6 separate regions of the Homo sapiens genome follow, and regions 1, 2, 3, 4 and 6 are each linked to region 5. Evidence: promoter capture Hi-C in human tissues and cell types (Jung and others, 2019). All regions are on one chromosome and are shown on one strand. The core of a region is centred on a gene start or on the middle of the fragment in contact, and the rest is flanking DNA. Distances in the headings are between cores, read along the strand shown.

Region 1 (2,700 bases), core at 91-2,590, 740 kb before region 5:
TTTCTACTTTTTTTGATGTAGGCATTTATTGTTATAAATGTCCCTCTTAGCACTGCTTTTGCTGTATCCCATAGGTTTTGGTATGATGTGTTTTTATTTTCATTTGTTTCAAAAAATTTTTAAATTTTCTTCTTAATTTTTTCATTGGTCCATTGGTTGTTCAGGAGCATGTTATTTAATTTCCAAGTATTTTTATAGTTTCTAAAGTTTCTTTTTGTTATCGATTTCTAGTTTTATTCCATTGTTGTCTGAGAAGATACCTGATGTAATTTTGATTTTTAAAAATTTGTTGAGACTTGTTTTGTGTTCTTACCTATGGTCTATCCTAGAGAATGTTCCATGTGCTGATGAGAAAAACGTGTATTCTGCCATTGTTGGATGAAATGTTCTGTAAATGTCTGTTGGGTTCATTTGGCCTAAAGTGCAGTTTAAATCCAATATTTCTTTGATGATTTTCAGTCTAGATGATCCCTATAAAACTGAGAGTGAGGTGTTCAAGTCCTCAACTATTATTATTTGTAGTAATACTGCTGTGGTGTTGGGTGTATATATATTTATAATTGTTACAGCTTCTTGCTGAATTGATCACTTTATCATCATATAATCATCTTTAAGTCAAAAATGATAAAAAGAGACAAAGATCATTAGTCTGTTTTATCTAACTACTCTTGCACACTTTTGATTTCCATTTGTGTGGAATATATTTTTTTCATCTCTTCACTTTCAGTTTGTGTGTATCTTTACAAGTGAAGTGAATTTCTTGTAGCAAATACATAGTTGGTTCATGTTTCTTTTTTCCCCTTTAGCCAGTCTGTATCTTTGAAGTAGGGAATTTAATCTATTTACATTTAAGGTTATTATTGACAGGTGAGGATGTATTCAAGTCATTTTGTTAATTGTTTTATCATTATTTTGTATATCCTTTGTTAGTTTCTTCCTCTCATTGTTTTTTTGCAGTTTGGTGGTTTTCTGTAGTGGTAATATTTGACTCATTTCTCTTTCTCTTTTTGTCACTTTTATATCTGGTCTACAAATGAGTTTTATACTTTTGTGTGTTTTTATGGTGGTAGGTACTGTTCTTTTCCTTCCAGATGTAGGGCTTCCTTGAGCATTTCTTATAGGCCTGGTCTAGTGGTGATAAATTCCCTCAGTTTTTCTTGTCTAGGAAAGATTTTATTTCTCCTTCATGTTTGAAGGATAGCTTTGCTTGTTAAAGTATTCTTGGCTGGCAGTTTTTTTTTTTCTTTCAGCTCTTTGAATATGTCATTTTATTCTCTCCCGTTCTGTAAGGTTTTGGCTAAGAAATCCACTGTTAGTTGAATTGGACTTCCTTATATGTGACTTGACTCTTTTGCTGTTTTTTAGAATTCTCTTTTTATCTTTGACTTTTGATGGTTTGGCTATAATATGCTTTGGAGAAGACTTTTTGAGTTTAATCTTTTTGGAGATTTTTGAGCTTCCTGTATCTGTCTATATTTCTTGTAAGACATGGGAAATTTTCAGCTATTATTTCATTAAATAGGTTTTCTATACTATTGCCCATATCTTCTCCAGTAAATCCTAAAATTTGACTATATGATCACTTTATGGTGTCCTATATATCATGTAGGTTTTTTCATTCTTTTTTCTTTTCTTGTTTTGTCTGACTGGGTTATTTCAACATTCTTTTGCTTAATCTAGCCTATTGTTTTAACTCTCAATTGTTTTTAAATTTTATTTATTGAATTTTTCATTTTCAGAATTTCTTTTTTTTTAAATTATGCTTATCTCTTTGTTGAACTTCTCATTCAGATCATAAATTGTTTTTCTGACTTATATGTATTGCTTCTCTGTGTTCTCTTATATCTCACCGAGTTTCTTAAATATAATTATTTTAAATTCTTTTTCAGGTGTTTTATAGATTTCCTTTTTGTTGGGAACTATTACTAGAGGCTTATTGTATTCCTTTGGAGGTGTCATTTTCCTTGCATTTTCATGTGTTTTTACATTGATATCTGCACATTTAATTTAATAATTACATCTTCCAATTTTATAGATTGGCTTTTGTAGGAAAAGACTTTTTTTCCATAGGTGTATCTATAGTGTTGGTTGGGTAGGGTGTTTTGGCTTTGATTCTGGATAGTTGCAGTAGTGTGGTCTTTGTATGATTTCTTCATCTGTAATCAGCATCAGTGGTGTTTGTGAGTTCCTCGGTGGCTTAGGCAGTGGTCATTAGTAGGGGCTGTGGCAAGACTTTACTAGGGACAGGGATGCTAGGCAGGCCAGTCCTTTGGTACCCAGTGGTGGTGGCAGCAGGCTGAGCATGCTGGTCCTCAGGCCCCTGATAGTGTATGTGGGTGTTGTTGGTCATGGGTCCAAGTGGGCCAGTCCTTAGGCCACCAGGCAGCTTGTTTGGATGCCAGAATTGGCAGCAGTGGGCCAAGTATGTGGGCATGTCTTTGAGCCCCTGGTTGGTGTGTGTAGTATTTATTTGTGGTGGCAGCAGTGGTGGAGGGCCAACTCTTGGGCCTCCAAGCAGCATGTGCAGGCATGAGCAGTGGTGGGCAGGTGGGTGCCAGTGGTGGTGGCAGAGGCAGACTAGATACACTAGTCCCTGGACTCCAGAGAGGCACACATGGGTGCTGGTGGCTGGCAGGATGGGCCTATCCCCAGGCCTCCAGTCAGTGCATTCAGGTAGTTGAGGTGGTCAGGACGGACCTG
Region 2 (2,700 bases), core at 192-2,691, 830 kb before region 5:
TGCTATTTGAGGAGGCTGTCAGGGAAGCCTCCATGCCTACCTCTCAGGAACCATGTGTGACCCCTTTTCTATCTTGTGTTTTGCATTTTTTTCCCGTGTGTCAGTTACATGTTTATGGTTTTTTTTTTTTAACTTTTATTTTGACTGTTTATTTATTTTTTCGGAAACAGCATTTTGCTCTGTCTCCCAGGCTGGAGTGCAGTGGCATGATCTCGGCTCACTGCAACTTCCACCTCCCAGGTTCAAGTGATCTCCCACTTCAGCATCCTGTGAAGCTGGGACTATAGGCGCCCATCACCATGCCCGGCTAATTTTTGTATTTTTAGTAGAGACAGGTTTTTGCCATGTTGGCAGGCTGGTCTCGAACTCCCGAGCTCAAGCAATCTGCCTGCCTCGGCCTCCCAAAGTGCTGGGATTACAGGCATCAGTCACTGCTCCCAGCGTTTACTTTTATTTTGAAATAATCTCAAGCTTATAGAAAAGTTGCAAGTATTAGCTGGGCATGGTGGCACGCACCTCGAATCTCAGCTACTCAGGTGAGAATCGCTTGAACCCAGGAGGTGGAGGTTGCAGTGAGCTGAGATTGTACTATTGCACTCCAGCCTGGGCAAAAGAGTGAGACTCTGTCTAAAAAAAAATAATAATAAAAAAAATAAAGCAAGAAAAGTTGCAAGTAGAGTATAAAGAACTTTTTTTTTCTAAACCCATTTGACAGTAAGTTGTTGACCCAATGCCTCATCATCCCTGGATACTTTAGTGCACATTTCCTACAAGCAAGGACATTTTCTGACATAACCTAATATGACCATCAGTATCAGGATGCTGACCTTGTACATGAAGACCAACTATTCCTCAGACACCATTCAACTTTTGCCAATTGTCCCAACAATGTCCTTTGCAGCAGAAAGATCCGGTTCAGAATCACATTTGCATTTAGTTGTCATGTCTCTTCATTCTCCTTTATCTGGGACAGTTCCTCAGGCTTTCCTTGACTTTCATGACCTTGGCACTATTGCAGAGTACAGGTCAGTTATTTTCTTGAACATCTGTCAGTGGGTTTTTCTGAAGTTTTTTCAGGACTTGCTTCAGCTTATTCATATTTGGCAGGAATATCAGAAGTGATGCTGAGTTCTCCTTGTTGCATCCCTTCATATCACGTGGGATTTTGATTTCTCTCCTTACTGGAGAGTGAAGCTTTGATCACTTGAAGATGGTTTCTGCCAGTTTTTTCCACTGTAAAGTTACTTTTTCTCGTTTGTAATTAATACTTTTTTTTAAATGAAGAGGTACTTTGAGACTGTGTAAATATCTTGTTCCTCCTAAACTTTCAATTTATTCATTTGTATATTTTGTCTATATAAACTCATGGATTTCTGTTTGATGCAATTCGTTATAATCCATTAATATCATTATTTATTCTGGTGCTCAAGCTGTCCTGGATTTAACCAGTAGGTGCCCCTTCAAGTGGGCTTCTGTATCTCTTTGATTTTGTCCCCATCATTCTTTGAACATTCTTTAATTTTTGGTAAACCAAGGTACTCCTCCTTAGCTTTGGAATCAGCTGTTTCTCCAGGGAGTCCTTGTTCCTTTTAGTGGAGAATGGTATTTAGAAGACAAGATCTGGGTCCTAGGTGTGCTCATTACTATTGGAGTGCCACAGCTCCAGCTCCCAGGTTCTCTCAGTGGACACACACGTAAGCATACATTCACACACTTGCATCTATTTTATATATATATATATATATATGTACTGATATGGTATGGCTGTGTCCCCATTCAAATCTCAACTTGAATTGTACCTCCCAGAATTCCCACATGTTGTGGGAAGGACCCAGGGGGAGGTGACTGAATTATGGGGGCCTGTCTTTCCCATGCTATTCTCGTGATAGTGAATAAGTCTCATGAGATCTGATGGGTTTATCAGGGGTTTCCACTTTTGCTTCTTCCTCATTTCTCTCTTGCTGCTGCCATGTAAGAAATGTCTTTCATCCTCCGCCATGATTATGAGACCTCCCCAGCCATGTGGAACTGTAAGTCAGATTAAACCTCCTTTTCTTCCCAGTCTTTGGTATGTCTTTATCAGCAGTGCAAAAATGGACTAATACAGTAAATTGGTACCAGTAGAGTGGGGAGTTGCTGAAAAGATACCTGAAAATGTGGAAGCAACTTTGGAACTGGGTAACAGGCAGAGGCTGGAACAGTTTTGGAGGGCTCAGAAGAAGACAGAAAAATTTGGGAAAGTTTGGAATTTCCTAGAGACTTGTTGAATAGCTTTGACCAAAAGCCTGATAGCAATATGGACAACAAGGTCCAGGCTGAGGTGGTCTCAGATAGAGATGAGCAACTCGTTGGGAACTGGTGCAAAGGTGACTCTTGTTATGTTTCAGCAAAGAGACTGGTGGCATTTTGCTCCTGCCCTAGAGATCTGTGGAACTTTAAACTTGAGAGAGATGATTTAGGGTATCTGCAGAAGAAATTTCTAAGCAAAAAAGCATTCAAGAGGTGACTTGGGTACTGTTAAAAGCACTCCATTTTAAAAGGGAAACAGTACAAAAGTTCAAAAAATGTGCAGCCTGATTATGCAGTAGAAAAGAAAAACCCATTTTTTGAGGAGAAATTCAAGCTGACTGCAGAAATTTGCATAAGTCGCAAGGAGCCTAATGTGACTCCCCAGGACCATGGGGAAAATGTCTCCAGGCC
Region 3 (2,700 bases), core at 61-2,560, 660 kb before region 5:
GAATGAAGAAGCTGCTAATCTCCTTTTGTCCTTACTACAACCCTTAAAGCAGATGGGGAGACACTAGCAGCCTGTTGGGACTTAGCTGCTACTTTGTTGGTATAAGTGACAGCTGGCTGGCCCCAGGCAGCTGCAAGATATGGCCTGGTCCGACTCTTTGGACAGTGCTTACTCTTCTCCCCAGTTAGCACGCGTTCTGTTGCCTGGGAGGGGTAGGTTGATGCACATGAAACATAGAACTTTCCAGAGATGCTCACCACACTGTCACCATGCCACATTTCCTTCTGCAGTGTGAACTTGCCCCTCCCCCATGAAGATGCAGACTCCCATCTCCCCCACCTTGAATGTGGGCTTGAGCCTACTTGATCAATACAGTGGGATGGAAGGGATGTTCTGAGACTTCCAAGGTTAAGCCATAAGAAGCTTTGCAGCTTCTGCCCGGGGCCTTTAGAATTCTCTCTTGGGATGCTCCTTCTGGGAAGCCAGCCTCCATACTATGAGATGGCAAAGCCATAGAAGAGGCCATGTGTAGGTGCTCTGGTGGACAGCCTCGGCTGAGTTCCCTGCAACAGCCCAGCCACGTGAGTGAGCCTTTTGGGATACCCAGATGGGCCAAACCTTCAGATGATGCCAGCCCCAGTGGACATCTGACTGCAATCCCATGTGAGACCTGGTGCGTGAGCTGCTCAGCTGAACCCAGTAAACCCGCAGAAACATGAGAGATGGTGATAAATGTTTGTTTGAAGTCACCAAGCTTTATGGTGGCAACAGATAAACAACACCAAGTTGGACTTGGTGCCAACTGGAGGAAGAAGTGACTGCTGACCACTTCTCTGTCTCCAAAGGGTGACTCCAGAGAGCCCCCAGCCTATGATTTCTCAGGATGTAGAGGAACGGACTTGGAGGTGGGAACCACATGATCTCCATTGTAAGGCCCACTAGCCTCTGAGATGCTTTCTTCAATTTGCACACTGCTCTGGGGCAAAAGACAGAGGGAAGGTTGGGACTGTTTCAAGGTCTAGTTTCCTCAGACTGTGGGGAATAACTAGTTTCAAGTGCACAGGTATAATGCCTTTACACACACCCTACATCCTGGTCCCTGTATGGTCTACTCCATGAAAATGGTCTAGATGCTTAGTACATGGAAGACGGAAGCAAGGAAATGGTGATGGAGCACCCATTCTGTGCCAGGTGGCTGACCTCCATTATTTCATTTGCTCTTCACAACAATTTGATGAGAGTAGAAGTATTATCCACATTGCACAGATGAAACTCGGTCAGAAAGGTTCAGTGATGTGTCCACACAGCAAGCAAGTGGCCAACCTGAAAAAACCCAGGCCGGCATCTCTACTGTTGATGACTTATGAATGGTCTCAAAGATACTGGGAAGATTCCCAGGGCTGTGCTTCATCCCCAGCTGCTGGTCAGGGCCTGAAATCCCCTCATTATTGCTTTGCTACTTTAGCTTAAATCCTGGATCCTGCCAGTGCCAATCCCTCTGGAAGGATGATGCATTACAATGTTATTAATCACCTACCCCAGGCAGACTGAGGTCCATCGTCTCTCCTGAGAGTCTGTTTTCATGGGAGGGAATGTGGGGTAGAGGCGCTGCTTTCAGGGACGGAAGAGAAACAGGTGGGGTCATAACACGTTCCTAGTTCAGGCTTTTCTCCATTCTTTCCAGATGGACCTTGATGGTGGGCTTGGAAAATCAAGATGATAGATCCTTAGTATGGGGCATGGGACAAGCCCCAACCCCTGCCTGAGACTGGCCTTCGCCAAGCCCAGTGGCAGCTCTAGAAAATATCTCTTTCTCCAGCTAATGAAGTCCATCCCTGGAATGAGCATGGGCACATTCATTGTCCTCTTCAGCTTCCTTCACATTTGGCTGGTTTCCCTTCAAGACTCCTGGGAGAGGCGTGTTTAGTTCTGGGCTCCAAACTCAAGGAGTGGCATTAAGCGACTGGTGCGAGGCCAGAGCAGACAGCCAGGCTGAGTGGGGAGGGAATGCCGATTCCTGATAGAGCAGTGCAAGGGTTCTCCAAGGGGAGGAGACCCGGGGGCTGGAGAGCTGGTTTCCACCCTGAGGATACCGGGTGGCTGAGTGCATTGCTGGACTTTGCCCATGCTCCTAATCCTTCTCTTTGGGATGGTTCCAGTTCTGGGGAGGCAGAGGCTACTTCACATGGGTGATCATGATGGGGAGTGACTACCTTGTCACTGGAGGTGGCTGAGCAGAAGACCTAACTGCCCATCTAGGCTCTGCAGAGAGGCTCCCACGGAAGGAGAAGGGACTGGGTGACCTTGGAGACCCCTTATCATGTTTCATTCCCAGGCTCTGAGAAAGGACAACCCCATCCTGGTGCAGCAAGATTTTAACCCCCTGGGGTAAAAGGGGGGGAACAAATTGTTGTGGCTGTCCCGGCGCTCACCAACCCTCCCGGCTCCCTTTACTCTGCTCTTTGGAGGTCTAACTTCCCTTCGGCAAGGAGCCCTTGCTCCTTTCTTTTCTCCCTTCCTGCTTTCCTTTCATTCATTTAACAAATTCTTGTTCAGCAAATTCTTTCTTGCAATGCCTCCTAGGATATTGGGCAATGCGCTTAGTCTTGGGGGACCCTGGAGTGAGGAGAATGAATACCGCCCCTGCCCTTATGGAACAGCAGTGGGGAGCGCCTGTGGAATAGGGGAGTGAGATGGATT
Region 4 (2,700 bases), core at 69-2,568, 850 kb before region 5:
GTGGGCTTGAATGGGAATAAGCACAGTACCGGCCCACTCTCTCCCTTCTCAGCCTCTCATTTTGCCCCCTTTCCAGGAGTCTTTCAGCCAGGAGTCCCAGAGGCTTGGCTGTCTGCATTCAGCCCGGGGCTGCGAATATCAGTGCGCCTTTCTTTTTATCCTTCCAGGTGCAGGTTTCCGGAGACAAATATACCCTCCATTCCCAGCCCCTCGATCTGTCTAAACACAATTTGACATGCGTTGCTATTAGCTTAGCACCTTATCAAATAATGCGGCCTGATCGAGATAAAAGGTTTTACAACCCTTGCTGCCTTTGTTTCTGCCTGCATTCACCCGCCGAGACAGCTAATAATTACCACCAAAGACAAAGAGAAATCTATACGCTCAGCTTAGAGGTTCCCGTGTGCATGTTAAGCAGCAGCCGGAGGAAAGAGAGGTGGGAGGAGATGGCCCCAAATGCAGCCCGGGCTTTGCAGCCTGCTGGAGAGAGTGGCCCCCTGGTTGCTGGGTGACCCTGTAGTTTGGTGCTGTCTAACCCTGGAGGTGGAGAGAAAGGTGGAGGCTGTGCCCCAGAGCCCTGCCCTGGGGTGTCAAGGCCTGGTTTGGCAGGTCAGGGTGGTGTGAAGGGAAAGGCAAGGATGCTGGCGTAGAGGGTTGCTGAGACCTGGGTTTCTGCCTGGCTCTGCTCCCAGGCTGCTCTGTGACCTTGGGTAGCTCCCTTGTCCCCTGTGGGCTTCAGTCTCTGTTTCCATAGCCTCTGGCTTCTGTGATAGGGCACCAAGGCAGTGTGGTGGGAGGGTGCCCGAGGCAGTGTGATGGTGAGAGGTGAAGCCAGCTGGACTTCCTGGGTGGAGTGGGGACTTGGAGAACTTTTCTGTCTAGCTAGAGGATTGTAAACGCACCAATCAGCACTCTGTGTCTAGCTAAAAGATTGTAAATGCACCAATCAGCACTCTGTAAAAAATGCATCAATCAGCACTCTGTGTCTAGCTAAAGGATTGTAAATGCACCAATCAGCACTCTGTAAAATGGGCCAATCAGCACTCTGTAAGGTGGACCAATCAGCACTCTGTAAAATGGACCAATCAGCAGGATGTGGGCGGGGACAAATAAGGGAATAAAAGTTGACCACCCCCACCATCAGCGGCAACCTGCTAGAGTCCCTTTGCAGCTTGCGGAAGCTTTGTTCTTTTGCTCTTCACAATGAATCTTTCTGCTGCTCTTTGTTTGGGTCTGTGCTACCTTTAAGAGCTGTAACACTCATCGCAAAGGTCTGTGGCTTCATTCTTGAAGTCAGCGAGACCAAGAACCCACTGGAAGGAACCAACTGTGGACACAATGGGAGTCTGGAGACCTCAGTTCGAGAGTCAGCTCAGCTGCTCAGGCAGTTGTATGTTGTTGTGGGCCTCCATTTCCCCATCTGGGAAATGAGGAGCTGGTTGGGATGATTACCGTGGGCATGTCAGGACTGTGCCCCAGGTGGTGGATAACGCAGCTGGCCTCTCCCTGGATGTCTATTCAAGGACCATGCCTATGTGGGGTCTTGACTGGGTGCTGGGGAAGGAGGAGATGTAAGTCTTCAACCGAGAACCTGTTCTAAAGAGGCAGTTTTCCTTCCAGCACCAACAAAGACAGAGTGAAATGGGAGCTCAGTGGGGGAGGAATAATTGTGAATGCAGTCTCAGAAGGCTTCCTGGAGGAAGAAGGGATGAGTGGTGCCAGGGTAGATGGGGTAGAGTGTCTGAATGGGGCTCTGTGCAGCAAGAGCAGTGATGAGGATTGTGAATAAAGTGGGCTGCAGGGGTTGTGAGTCTGTGATAGAACAGTCTGGATTCCAGCATCTGCTGGCACTGGCCACTCTCCAGGGGACACGGATTCCCATAGAGCTCAGGACTGTTGGGGGCTGCCTGGATTCCCCTCTCCCCCCGCCCTGGCCTGCTGTGGGAGGGATAGAGCTAGTGTGCTCAAAAATGTTTAACGGTTCCCTGTAAACGTCCCCATCGTGACCGATTCCACAATACCAATGTGACATCACCAAATGCAGAGTTGGGAAGAGATGAGCACACTTGACTCTCAGGAGTGGGTGTGAGCTGCCTCCAGCACACCGCAGGTTGGAGTCCAGTGTAAACCCAAGGAGTCAGGTCAGAGACCCACATGGTGTCAAGACTCAGAAGATAAAGGATGGAGTAGCACACATGCCACCTCCACTCCTACTTGTGCCTATGGCAGACATCACTAATCAATTGTGTCTCTGCTAAGCTCAGAATTATTCTCATCTGAGTGCTCCAGGCAGTCGCTAGCAATTGATTACAGTTGGCATACAAAATGACAGTTCTTTGCCATTGCAGATCTAGGCTAACCTCCACATTGTACACATGGGGGAAACTGAGGACCAGATAGGGAAGGAGACTCTCTTGAGGTCATCCAAACAGTTTGGGAAAGCTGAGGCTGGAAGGCCAGTGGCTCACCTCACAAGCTGGCACTCCCCTGTCCTCCCACACTGTCTTTGCTGTTGACAGCAGCAGTAACAAGGGAAAGGAACCTTGTTCCTAAGAGAGGTGGCCTTGGGCCTGGGCTGAGCATCTTATCTTCCCTGAAGTTCCTACCTCGAAGACAGGGATGAGTGCTGTCCTAACCGCCAATTCTCATTACAAAGACGTGTCTGCAGCAAATGGCCATTTTCCCTTTGTGCCCTTCCTT
Region 5 (2,700 bases), core at 107-2,606:
CGAAAATCAGGGGTGGGGGGCCTCGAGGAAGGGGTATGGAAGAGGAAGTGGGAGAGGAGGGCGTGTGTTTGTGTGTGTACGTTAACGTGAGGATTTAGTGCCCAGGGGAACGTTTCGTGTTTTGTTTTTTGATTGTATGTGGGGTTGTGTACAGCGATGTGTGTGTGTAACTGCGTGTCTCTGAGCGTGCCTGCTGTGGCCGTGTAAGCGGGCATCTTTGTGAGGGAAAGTAAGCGAGTGTGTGGGGGCGCGTTTGTGGTTTGGGGGGGAGCGTGTTTGCAATGCTGAGGGAGCGAACGTGTGTGCCGTTCTTGTAGGAGTTTCCGTGAGAGTGGCAGTGGACGTGAGCCAAAGTGGGCGCGTAGTTGGATGCTCTCGGGGGGGGGGGGTGGGTCGGCTAGGGGAACTCCCGCGAGTGGGTGCACCCAACTGCGCCTCGTGAGTACCTTAGCTCTCCGCTATCTCTGGCAGTGCCCAGTCCGGGGCAGAGGGCCAGGCCCCAGCCTAGCAGCTCCCACGCAGCCCGCGCGCACAGCGCCCCGGGCGCTCCGCGCCGGGCCTAGGGGAATCCACGCGTCTCTGGACTGTGCTAGGTGCCGCGGATCAACTGTGGCCACCACACCCCCGCTCCCCCACAGCTGTCGGGGGGCCGCGCTCTAGTCTCCCTCAAAGTCACCCTTGGTGGTGGTGGTCCTCTTCCCACCCCAACCACCAGTCCCCGGGCTGTAGGAACAATTCCAAAGTCAACCCCAGGGGAAGGCTTTGGAGGTCCAGTTACCAACTCGCTTACCCCAATTCGGGTACCTGACAGCGCCCGGGGCCACGAGTGCACTCCAGGCGGGGGCGTGCCAGCGCGGGGCAGGGGCTCTCGGGTGAGCAGTGTGATTTTGGCTTCCTCCCCAAGGTGGTCCCTACCTAGGCTCAGCATTTGTTCCCCTCTCCAAACTTACTGGGGCTGGGGCCTGCAGGGGGGCTGGGGGCTGCAGGGGGCGTCAGGGAGTAGCGGAGGGAGTAGGGCAAGGAGAGAGGTGAGTGGACTGGTGGCGTAGCGGGGAACCAGGAGCCAGGAGAAGAAAAGCTGGGAGAGCGCCGAGACCGAGGAGCGAGGAAGAGAGGAAGAGAAAGGAAAGGAAAGGCGAGGGAGAGAACGAGGAGAGGCGAAAAGGAAAGGGGAAAGAGAGCGCAGAGCGCGAGCCAAGCCGAGCGCCGGCAGCGGCGGCGGCGCGGCGCGGCGCTCCACTCCGGCCTGACTCCGCACCGGCTTTTGCGGGCGGCCGGCGGCGCGGGGCCCTTTGGAAATAGAATAGCCAATGTAATCTGACACTTCAACTTGCTCGGCTCCGGGCGAGTTGATTCACTTACTCACCCCCTAACGCCGAGTTCCTTTTCACTGTCTGTGGACATTAAAAAAGCGAGCGGCGGCGGCGGGCGCCGGGGAGAGCGGGCGGCCGGGCGGCAGGCGGGCGAGCAGCGATCGGGCGGCCGAGCGAGCGAGCAACGCCGGCGCAGCGCGGTGACCCCAGCCCCAGCCGGCGCGGAGCAGGAGCCGGAGCCGAGCGGATCTCGGCGCCCTCGCTGCGCTCCTCCCGGCCCGAGCCTGCCCTACCCGGCGGTGGCGGCGGCGCGTCCTCCAGCGGCGGCAGCGGCGCTCGCAGCGCCCGGTAAGTTTGGGGCCAGAGCCAGGCGCCCGCTGGCTCCGGGGCTACCTCCCGCTCCCCGGGGACTCTCGGGGTGCAAGCGTGGGGATTGGGTGCTGGGGTTTTTCCCTTAAAGTGTCCCCCGGAGCGGGGCGACCGGCCGGCGGCGCGGGCTCCGCTCCGCTCTCCTTGGCGGCCGGGGGCCGAGGCCCGGCGGCCGGCGAGCTCCCGGCTGCGCGGAGCCGGCTTGGGCTGCGCGTGGGGGCCGGGTTTGTCAGGGTGTGCGGGGCGTAAGTGTGGTCGTGCGCGCGCGGACCCGGTGCCCGCCTCCTGCCGGCGCGCCTCCAGCCCTCGCTCCCTACACCCGGGGGCCGGGCAGGACCGGGAATCGGAGGAGGGAGGGAAGGACCGCCTCGGTCTCCTTCGCCTCCTCTGGGGAGATGCGAAGTTGTGCGCCTGTGTGTGTACAGGAACCGCTGGGGAAAGCGCTGGATTTCAGGATGGCAAGGGGTGGTGGTGTTAACTTGTGCGTCTGAATTTCCAGGGAAAACATACACTTTTGTAAATGGGAGGTGGGGGCGCGGTTAAGTTGTTTGTGTGGGAATTGCCCGGGGAAAGCTGGCGCGCGGTACAAACGAGAAACGCGGAGGTGTGTGTGCAGGGTTTTCTCCCAGGGCTTCGCAAGCCAGAGGGGCGCTCAGGCCAGTGCCTGGACGGGGCTGCCCCGGCCAGGAGGGGAGCCCAGGGGGAAGATGTGCGTGTGTGTGCGCGCGCGCGTTGCAAATACGAAAGTAATTTCCCCGTGTTCTTTCTTCCTCTCCGTCTCCGGCGGCGGTGGCCCCGGGGGAGTGGGAGGCCAGCCGGGGCGGAGGTTGGGGGGCCGGGGCTGGAGCCGGGGTCGGGGGGGGGAGGCGGGTTCTGGAAGCTTGCTTCACATTCCTGGCGTCTGGGCTGGGGAAAAAACAGTGGGGAGCGCGGCCTCGGCGTCTAGGGCGCGGGCAGCGGGCGCGCGTCGCCCCCTCGCTGGGGACATCTGTCCAGGAAGCCGGCCGGGCGGGGATAG
Region 6 (2,700 bases), core at 190-2,689, 520 kb before region 5:
GTTTCACATCACGTAGCCCCTGCACAGCTGATCTGTGAATGGGAAATTGGGTTGGGCCATCACCAGGTCCCCTTCCAGTTAAATATTTGTCCCAAGTCCCAGATGATTTGATATGAGAGCCCCATGCCTAATGCTGTTTGTGGATTCATTGAATCAATTATTGTTTCGTTCATTCAATTCATTCAACAAATAGCTTCTCTGTGTCTACTACTATTTGCACTCAATTCTCAGAGAAGTAAATGTCTAAAGTACCCACTTAATAACTTAAAAGCTGATTTTACCAATTTCATTTCACTGTAAGGCCTCCCAAAGGATTAACATGTTAGTGTGCACCCCCTCTCGCACCAGCACACTTGCCCACAAAACCGCCTCCCATTGTTTGAAGGGAAACCTACAAGTGGATCCCTGCCCCCACCCCCACAGCACTTTCTAATTCAAATCATCTGCCATTCACTGGCTTTCTGCCCTGGGGCAAATCCTCCACCTTCAGTCCTACTTTGATCCTCTAGCCCAGGCCGCTTTCATTTCACAGTTGAAGTAACAAAGGTTAAAACAGATGACAACTATTTCTAGAGAGCTGGGTTTTTTGCCCCCTCAACTACGCACCGTGGTGAGGCGCCGAGGAGGCCACATCACAAGGCTGGAGAACCCTGGGAGCTTGGTAGTGTTGGTGAGCGAGGGTTTGTTCTTCTCTAGCCCACTATCCTAAAGGCTGACTTCCCTCCAAGGACTGAACCTCGAAATTTACAATGCAGGGCCCCAGGGGCTGCGGTGGGGAAGGGCCTTTCACTATTGCTGGCAGCTCCTAGGGCATTTTCCTGGACTTTGGGGGCAGATTACTATGAAACTCCTATCTCATCCTGCAGGTTGGGAAACTAAAGGGAAGTTCTTTGTCCAGGGTCAGAGCATGTGCATGGGCAGGAGGGAAGGTGGGGGAAGCAGGGAGTCAGTAAAGGAAAAACAAACCAAAACCCAACAAAACAGAGCCCAGTGCAGTGTTCCTCCTGGGGGTAGCCCTTTGATGCATCCCTGGTACCTAAGAAGCTGGCTCCAGCCAGGCCTCACCTATTAGCCTCAGGGACCATTCTCCCCAGACAAGGTCTCTGTTCACTGGGCCATGCCATTTTCTTCTCATCCCCCTACCACAACTCCACATACTTCCTTAGCATTGTCTTTTCCTGAATTACCAAACACAGCAGCCTGAGCTTCACCGGGGAGCTGGGAGCTGGGGACATGTTCCTGGGAGTCTCTAGATGGATGGCTTTGAGTTTTTCCAGCAGAAGAGGAGCAGCCAAACCCAGATGTGAGGGCCCTCCCCCTCCAAGTTCAGCCTGCCCTGGTGGCTTCCTTCCCAGAGTCAGGTCTTCTAAGGAGTGCTTAGCAAGTATGTCAGCTTCCAGACCAAGGCCTGCTGTTCTTGGCTCCGGGAGATGTTTTTCAGCACAGTATGCTTGCTGTAGACTGCTCTGCAGGGGTGGGGGTGGGAGGGTGAGGGCAGACCTCTCTACTGATCAGAATTCAGAGTATGACTCCTCCAATCTGTCCCCTTGGTGACTTTACATGTTCTCAGGACAGCTTTCAGAAAGCCTCCTGCCTGCTACTTGCACTTGGGGATGTAGGGGGAGGGGTCAGCAGTCGTGCGGGGACTATATGTGGAATTTGTTGAGATCAGGCAGAAGGAAGTGAAGACACCCTCTTCTGATTTGTGACATGTGAGAACATTCTCCTGACAGAAGCAGCTCCCGGTAATAGTAACAGCTTCCGGGCCCTCGACAGGCTGCAGCCCATCACCTTCAGCGTCCTGCCAAGCTCAGCAGCAGCGTGGCAGGAGGGGGCAGAGAGCTGGAGGCAGCGTCTGCCTGGGGATGGGGGCTAGAGGTAGACACCGGGAGAGGCAGATCTAGAGGGAGACTGAGAGAACAGAGACAGGGGCATGAGAGAGACAAACGGAAATTGAGGCAAGAAGAGATCAGATCAGGGAGATACAGGCGCCTGGGAAGGCAGAGAGTAGGAAGCAGAAATAGTGCTAAAGATGGAGACAAGTGGAGAAGGAACTGCAGAGATTCGGCCCTGGGCTGGCTACCACCCCCATACTCCCTGAAGGCCTCCCTGAATCCTGCAAACACACTCCCTGCTTGGAAGCCTAGCAGCTGGCCCAGCTAGGAAGAAAGGTAAGAAGGTGCCTCAGGCCAACCCACCAGCAACAAAAATGTCTGGACCTCTGGGGCTTACGGAGGGGTTCAGGACCTAGGATTCCTAGGTGTGCAGCTCTGTAGGAAACAGCTTTCTCCCTGATGTCAAGATTTGGGAACTTGGAGTGGTGCTATTTCTCTCAAAAATAATATCTTTTTAAAAACAAAATGTTGCTTTCTCCCATTTAAAAATAACCTTTTCCCACCCCTGCTACCTCATTACAAAAGAAAACAATGCAAGCTCATCATGGAGAACATGGAAAATATGAAAAGATACAGGAAAAAAATAAAACATGAATTGTAATCACATCACCTAATGATAGCCACTGCTAGGAATTTGATGGTTTTCCTTTCAGTCTTTTATCAATGCATAGAGCTATATAATCAGCAGTAATATGTCATAAGCATTTTACTAAATATTATTTGACACTACCACTTTTATTAGTGTATATATTCTAATATGTGGACAAGGCTTTCTTTATTGAGGTAATCTATGGTTGAATATTTA

What was found. The method cuts DNA at HindIII sites, captures the fragments that hold promoters and counts their contacts. A contact is called where the count stands out against the background at its distance.
Region 1: a contact is called between a fragment that was not itself captured here and the fragment with the promoter of ZMIZ1 in region 5, in 2 of the 25 tissues and cell types used here (dorsolateral prefrontal cortex and spleen).
Region 2: a contact is called between a fragment that was not itself captured here and the fragment with the promoter of ZMIZ1 in region 5, in 1 of the 25 tissues and cell types used here (dorsolateral prefrontal cortex).
Region 3: a contact is called between a fragment that was not itself captured here and the fragment with the promoter of ZMIZ1 in region 5, in 1 of the 25 tissues and cell types used here (dorsolateral prefrontal cortex).
Region 4: a fragment that was not itself captured here is called in contact with the fragment with the promoter of ZMIZ1 in region 5 in 1 of the 25 tissues and cell types used here (heart right ventricle).
Region 6: a contact is called between a fragment that was not itself captured here and the fragment with the promoter of ZMIZ1 in region 5, in 1 of the 25 tissues and cell types used here (dorsolateral prefrontal cortex).

What each region holds. Positions count from the first base shown.
Region 1 is chr10:78,325,386-78,328,085 of GRCh38, forward strand. All of the region lies in intron 1 of LOC124902468 (a long non-coding RNA gene), which reads left to right. Among named protein-coding and RNA genes, the nearest start is that of LINC00595, 59 kb to the left of the region's middle. The HindIII fragment of the contact is 5,759 bases long and covers 1-2,700 here.
Region 2 is chr10:78,240,294-78,242,993 of GRCh38, forward strand. No RefSeq gene overlaps it. Among named protein-coding and RNA genes, the nearest start is that of LINC00856, 7.0 kb to the right of the region's middle. The HindIII fragment of the contact is 7,188 bases long and covers 1-2,700 here.
Region 3 is chr10:78,403,948-78,406,647 of GRCh38, forward strand. No RefSeq gene overlaps it. Among named protein-coding and RNA genes, the nearest start is that of LINC00595, 140 kb to the left of the region's middle. The HindIII fragment of the contact is 4,448 bases long and covers 1-2,700 here.
Region 4 is chr10:78,218,757-78,221,456 of GRCh38, forward strand. No RefSeq gene overlaps it. Among named protein-coding and RNA genes, the nearest start is that of LINC00856, 29 kb to the right of the region's middle. The HindIII fragment of the contact is 4,517 bases long and covers 1-2,700 here.
Region 5 is chr10:79,067,610-79,070,309 of GRCh38, forward strand. ZMIZ1 (zinc finger MIZ-type containing 1) reads left to right here and starts at 1,357. Exons shown (of 25, transcript NM_020338.4): 1 at 1,357-1,661. RefSeq lists silencers at 1-7, 808-877, 1,138-2,117, enhancers at 271-1,116, 2,318-2,367 and a cis regulatory region at 990-1,675. The HindIII fragment of the contact is 18,402 bases long and covers 1-2,700 here.
Region 6 is chr10:78,551,009-78,553,708 of GRCh38, forward strand. No RefSeq gene overlaps it. Among named protein-coding and RNA genes, the nearest start is that of LINC00595, 290 kb to the left of the region's middle. The HindIII fragment of the contact is 9,741 bases long and covers 1-2,700 here.